2 separate regions of the Homo sapiens genome follow, and region 1 is linked to region 2. Evidence: promoter capture Hi-C in 16 types of primary human blood cells and fetal thymus (Javierre and others, 2016). All regions are on one chromosome and are shown on one strand. Each heading gives the region's core, a stretch centred on a gene start or on the middle of the fragment in contact. The rest is flanking DNA. Distances are from core to core; before and after follow the strand shown. Region 1 holds the start of CLC (Charcot-Leyden crystal galectin). Region 2 holds the start of CYP2B6 (cytochrome P450 family 2 subfamily B member 6).

Region 1 (2,814 bases), core at 116-2,615, 1.3 Mb before region 2:
ACTCGGGAAGCTGAGGTATGAGAATCGCTTGAACCCGGGAGGTGGAGGTTGCAGTGAGCCGAGATTGCACCACTGCACTCCAGCCTGGGAAACAGAGCGAGACTCTGTCTCAAAAAAAAAAAAAAAAAATTACTGCAGGTTTGAAGGCCTGGGCTTCAGTGAACCTCTTGCATATGCCCCCCAGCAGCTGGAACTACGGTATGCAACACCACATTCAATAAATTTTTAAATTTTTGGAAAGATGAAATCTTGCTATGTCTCCCAGGCTGGTCTACCAGTCCTGGCCTGACATGGGCCTTTCAATTCGGCCACCCAAAGTGCTGAGACTACAGGCCTCAGCAAACATCTTGATGAATATCCACTGTAAGCTCTGCCTTGTACCTTCCTGGTTTTGGGTGATTCAGTCTCTTAAATCAAGTCCCTCAATGTCCTTCTCTAGCATCCTGGCACTCAATGGGAAGGCCAGGCTAGGGTAGGAGACAGGGAGAGACCTGAGGCTGGAGGCAGGAGCCAGTGGTCACTGTGTGCAGATTCCACCTAAGGAACCATCAGCCCCATCGTCTGTTTCTCACCCCCATTCTGCTTGGGAAAAGGCACCTGAGAATTCATGCATTCTGCTCTCATAAATGCTCAGAGATAAGTCCTCGGTAACTCAAGGGCCCCAAGATCCCACAAGTTCTGTCACCGGGGATCCACAGTGATGCACAAGGGAAGTTAGACAGAGTACTGCTATGTGGGGAGGAACCTTCACATGCACAGAAGGCCACATGCATGTTCCCAGTTCAACACCCAGTCACATTCCAGCACACACACTCACAGTCACACAGAGCCGTGCCACTCACTGAGTCACACACACCTGCTCACTGTGCATATAAAGATGCTCATGCACTGGTCCGGCTGTGCTCACACACACACTCACATCACAGTCATGAAGACAAAACACAGTCACCTGATTACAATCACTTACACACCCACCCATATCCTGGAGGGCCATACACATCCCGTCTAAAGTCACATCATTTTTAGCAGAGTTTACTCTCATCAGATACCATCACATGCTCACAGAGGGTCACAATGTTCCAGCATCCACACCCCCTACCCCCCTACCCCAGGAGCATCTCAGATACCATAGCCCTAGGGTCTCTCTTCCACACACCCACAACTCTCAGTAAAGCATTCACAGTAGAAATTTTCATATTTTCATCCCATAAAATCTCCCTCTTCCCTTTTCTGTGTGACCTGAGATTATTGAAGGCTGTGCCTTTTTAACTCACGGGTAGCAGGGACATTGTTGTCTCCTTCTGGGTGGCTCTTCTGAATTGTGTCCAGACTTCTGTGTGAATCTCTGAGCTGCAGAATTTAAATGGCCCCTATCAGCCCTGCCTCTGGCTTTATTCCTGATTCCAAGCCCCTCCCAGGAAGGTTTCCTCACACAGTGAGAAGGGGTGGGGTGTCAGAAACAGACTCAGTCACAACCACACCTGTTTGGAGGCCTGTGCCTGTGATGCAGCAGAAACGACAGTGAGGGAGGTACTGGAGGAGGAAGGGGTCACCAGGGAAATGCACAGATAAAGACGATGGAGTGAGGATGAGTGGTGTGAGTTCCAGCCTCCATGCTTCTCATGAAGCCTTTTCTCCACTGTGCAGAATCTACCAGGAAGGTGTGCGTTCTCCTAACCTGTGCAATGGTAAAAAGCTGGAGATCCTGGGGGCAAGGCACTTGGCTTTGAAAGAAAATCCTCCTCCTCCTTCTCCAGTGGTTCTGGGAGAGCATAGATCTTGATCATTCGCAGGACCTGGGGACAGAAGTAGAGAAAACACTTGTGTCTTCTTTACCCACCCTCAGATCCCTTGGCTCTGCCAGGTGAGAGCCACTCCCACTCTGTCTCTCAGACACCTGGGCTTTAGGTACGCCCTCTTATTTCCCTATTTCTTTTCATGTGAATCAAAATCTGAGGCTGTCGTTCTCCTGCAGATTCTTGGAGAAAGGTGAGATTTCTCACTCATAAGTGGGAGCTAAGCGATGAGGATGCATTAGCATTAATATTAGTTGTGCTTGACCCGACAATAAATTCCACTTTCCCTGATCTAAAACCTTGACAATTCATTTCCAAGCATGCACTCCAAGATTCTGCTCATATAAATCAGCACAATCACACAGTTCTTTTGGTATATAACGTATTTCCTTAAGATTAATTTGTAATGTCATCCCACTGCATTCCTTGGGTTTTGACTCTGGGTATGGACATGGAAGCAATGAAAAGGGTCAGAGGCCACAATTAAGGAGCTTTGGAAACCCCGTTCTAGGCAACCACCCTCACACCCTGCCCAGAACTGTAGCTTGTAAGAAATTACCACAGAAGGGAAAGAGGAACTGCTTTTCCTTGCAACAGATATGCAATAGAATTTTGAGTAATATCCCAGCTATTCATCTGAACTGGGGAAGAAATATCAGTTCAGGGCGTCTGGCCACCTAGTAAGCTGTGGATAAAGATGTTGATGTTATTTACTTCTCAGGCATTCCAGCAATCCTTTCAGTGATGCAGAGAGATTGATCTTCTTTAACTTCCATATCCTCTGCACAATAGCCCATACTTCTGCTGGTTGCAACTATTTCTTCAGAAATCCATTATGCCCTACGACTTGCTTTCAGTCTTTCTTTTCAACTACATCTTTCCAAGCACACACTGTTCCCCCGAAAAACTTTAGGTTTTGTGTATGAAATTATATAATATCTGGGATTTGCTCTAAAATAATCTGGGGATGACAGTTCTCTCCTTTTGCAAACATTTGAAATTTTTTACAGTACAGTTT
Region 2 (2,849 bases), core at 24-2,523:
GAGTGATCAGAAACCAAGAGGACCTGATCGCTGTACCTGCCAGGTCTCAGTTTCTGTCTCCTTCCAACTGACCACCTCTTCCTCTGAGACTCACCAGTTCTGCATCTCTTGCTCCTCCTTCTGTTTCTCCGACCACTTCCACCTGTGGCTGTCACAGAAGGGCGGATGAAGGAGGGGACACTGGAGATAGACTCAGCATCTGCAGGCTTCCAAAGAGAGGGGCTAGGAGATCCACCAACACACCAGCACAAATACACCAGCACACACAGATACACACAATTGGTTCATGTATTGCTAGGTTACAGTTTGCTATGCTACAAAGGCAGTAGGCCAAATTTGATTGAATTGAATAATTCCTTATTTTCATCAGCTTCTCCTTTTTTTTTTTTTTTTTTTTTTTTTGAGATGGAGTATTGCTGTGTCACCCAGGCTGGAGTGCAGTGGTGTAATCTTGGCTCACTGCAGCCTCCACCTCCCAGGTTCAAGTGATTCTCTTGCCTCAGCCTCCCGAGTAGCTGGGATTAAAAGTACCCACCATCACGCCCGGTTAATTTTTGTGTTTTTAGTACAGATGGGGTTTTGCCATGTGGGCCAGGATGGTCTCGAACTCTTGACCTCAATTGATCTGCCCCCCTCAGCTTCCCAACGTGCTGGGATTACAGGTGTGAGCCACCGCACCCAGCCAGCCTCTCAGTTTTGAACATGCACTACCACCACCTCCACAACACACAAATGTAAATGCACTTTCGTATATAAAACTGTATAAATACAAGGAAGCTCATACACATGCAAGGATACACACATAAGCACCCCCAGATTCAACCACAGAAATATACGCCAGTACATTTGCATAAATTCAAACACCCCTTTACATGTAAAAATCATATAAGCACATACAGGGATGCAAGCAGGCATGGACAAATGCATGCAAGCACAGACAAACAGACAAAGCTAAGTAAAAAAGTGCAAGCTCACCTATGCTTACAAAAATAGACATACATATACCCACAAACCCACACACCCACACATTCACTTGCTCACCTGGACTTTGATATCTCTACCACTGTATCCCTGCCAATATCTACAGAGTGGGTAAAGGGATAGGCATCAGGTCACTGGGTTGCCCAAGCAGGAAGTCTGGGTTCCCTAACAACTTTTTCTAAGCTAATGCTCCTGGATGATGATGAAAAAGGAGGTGGGGAATGGATGAAATTTTATAACAGGGTGCAGAGGCAGGGTCAGGATAAAAGGCCCAGTTGGAGGCTGCAGCAGGGTGCAGGGCAGTCAGACCAGGACCATGGAACTCAGCGTCCTCCTCTTCCTTGCACTCCTCACAGGACTCTTGCTACTCCTGGTTCAGCGCCACCCTAACACCCATGACCGCCTCCCACCAGGGCCCCGCCCTCTGCCCCTTTTGGGAAACCTTCTGCAGATGGATAGAAGAGGCCTACTCAAATCCTTTCTGAGGGTAAGACACAGACGAATGGGGTCTGAGGGTGAGCTGCTTCTTGCCTTGGTACTTGGGGAAGCTTCACCAAACAGAATGAGGCAGACTTCCAGAGTCAGGGGTGGCACGGGCATGGTTGGTGAGTACGGAGCATGGTGAAGCATGATGGGTGGTATTATTAGGAGAAAAGCATCAAATTAAATTTAGCAGAGTTTATTTGAGCAAAGAAGTGACTCATGAGTTGGACAGCTCCCTAAACCAGGAAAGACACCACACGGCAGTATGGTCAAGTGGTATTTACAGGCAGAAAAAGGAGGTGACATACAGAAACAGCCTGATTGGCCACAGATCACAGCTTGCCTTACTTGGTCACAATCTGAGCAGTTTGCAGCCTGTGTGGACTGAAAGCCCAGCTGCTCTGATTAGCCAACACTTGGCTACTTGTCACAAGAATATATTCATTTGGGCCAGGTGCAGTGGCTCATGCCTGTAATCCCAGTGCTTTTGGAGGCCGAGGTGGTGGATCACCTGAGGTCAGGAGTTCGAGACCAGCCTGGCCAACATGGTGAAACCTTGTCTCTACTAAAAATACAAATATTAGCTGGGCATAGTGATGCGTGCCTGTAATCTCAGCTACCCAGGAGGCTGAGGAAGGAGAATCACTTGAATCCAGGAGGCAGAGGTTGCAGTGAGCCAAAATCTTACCACTGCACTCCATCCTGGGTGACAGAGTGAGACTCCTTCTCAAAAAAAAAAAAAAAAAAAAGAATATACTCCCAAGTTAGGTTGCAGTTCACTCTACAGAGAGAGCTTTAGGTCAAATTTAATTTAATTAAACAATTCTCCCCTTTTGGTCAGCCTCAAAATTTTGAGATTGACCAAAACCTTGGGCATCAACATTACTTCTGTCACCATCATAATGGACTTGTCTGCTCTCAGTATGGAATTCACAATGGACAATGTCAACGTAGTTGAGTGATTCTTTACCTTTTCTTCATGTTTTTGTTGTTCCCACTGTAATGAGCCCACTGGATGTACAAAGAATGGCTGCATATGAGCATTTAAGACTCTTTTTTTTTCTGAGACAGGGCCTCACTCTGTCAGCCAGGCTGAAGTGCTGTGGCATGATCACGTCTCACTGCAGCCTTGACCTCCCAAGGCTCAAGTGATCCTCCTGCCTCAGCCCCCCAAGTAGCTGGAACTACAGGTGCATGCCACCACGCCCAGCTAATTTTTGTATTTTTTGTAGAGACAGGGTTTTGCCATGTTGCCCAGACTGGTCTTAAACTCCTGGGCTCAAGCAATCCACCTGCCTCGGCCTCCCAAAGTGCTAGGATTACATGTGTGAGCCACCGCACCCGGCCAAGACTCTTGAGAAAATACAACACATCAGGGAGACTGT

What was found. The method cuts DNA at HindIII sites, captures the fragments that hold promoters and counts their contacts. A CHiCAGO score of 5 or more calls a contact.
Region 1: a contact is called between the fragment with the promoter of CLC here and the fragment with the promoter of CYP2B6 in region 2, in 4 of 17 cell types (naive B cells, neutrophils, total B cells and 1 more). The highest score is 6.8, in naive B cells.

The regions. Positions count from the first base shown.
Region 1 is chr19:39,736,664-39,739,477 of GRCh38, forward strand. CLC (Charcot-Leyden crystal galectin) reads right to left here and starts at 1,366. Exons shown (of 4, transcript NM_001828.6): 1 at 1,275-1,366. The coding sequence starts at 1,289. The HindIII fragment of the contact is 8,050 bases long and covers 1-2,814 here.
Region 2 is chr19:40,990,009-40,992,857 of GRCh38, forward strand. It overlaps CYP2B6 (cytochrome P450 family 2 subfamily B member 6), which reads left to right and starts at 1,274. Exons shown (of 9, transcript NM_000767.5): 1 at 1,274-1,468. The coding sequence starts at 1,298. RefSeq lists promoters at 1-1,313, 1-1,279 and a cis regulatory region at 1,016-1,039. The HindIII fragment of the contact is 6,148 bases long and covers 1-1,527 here.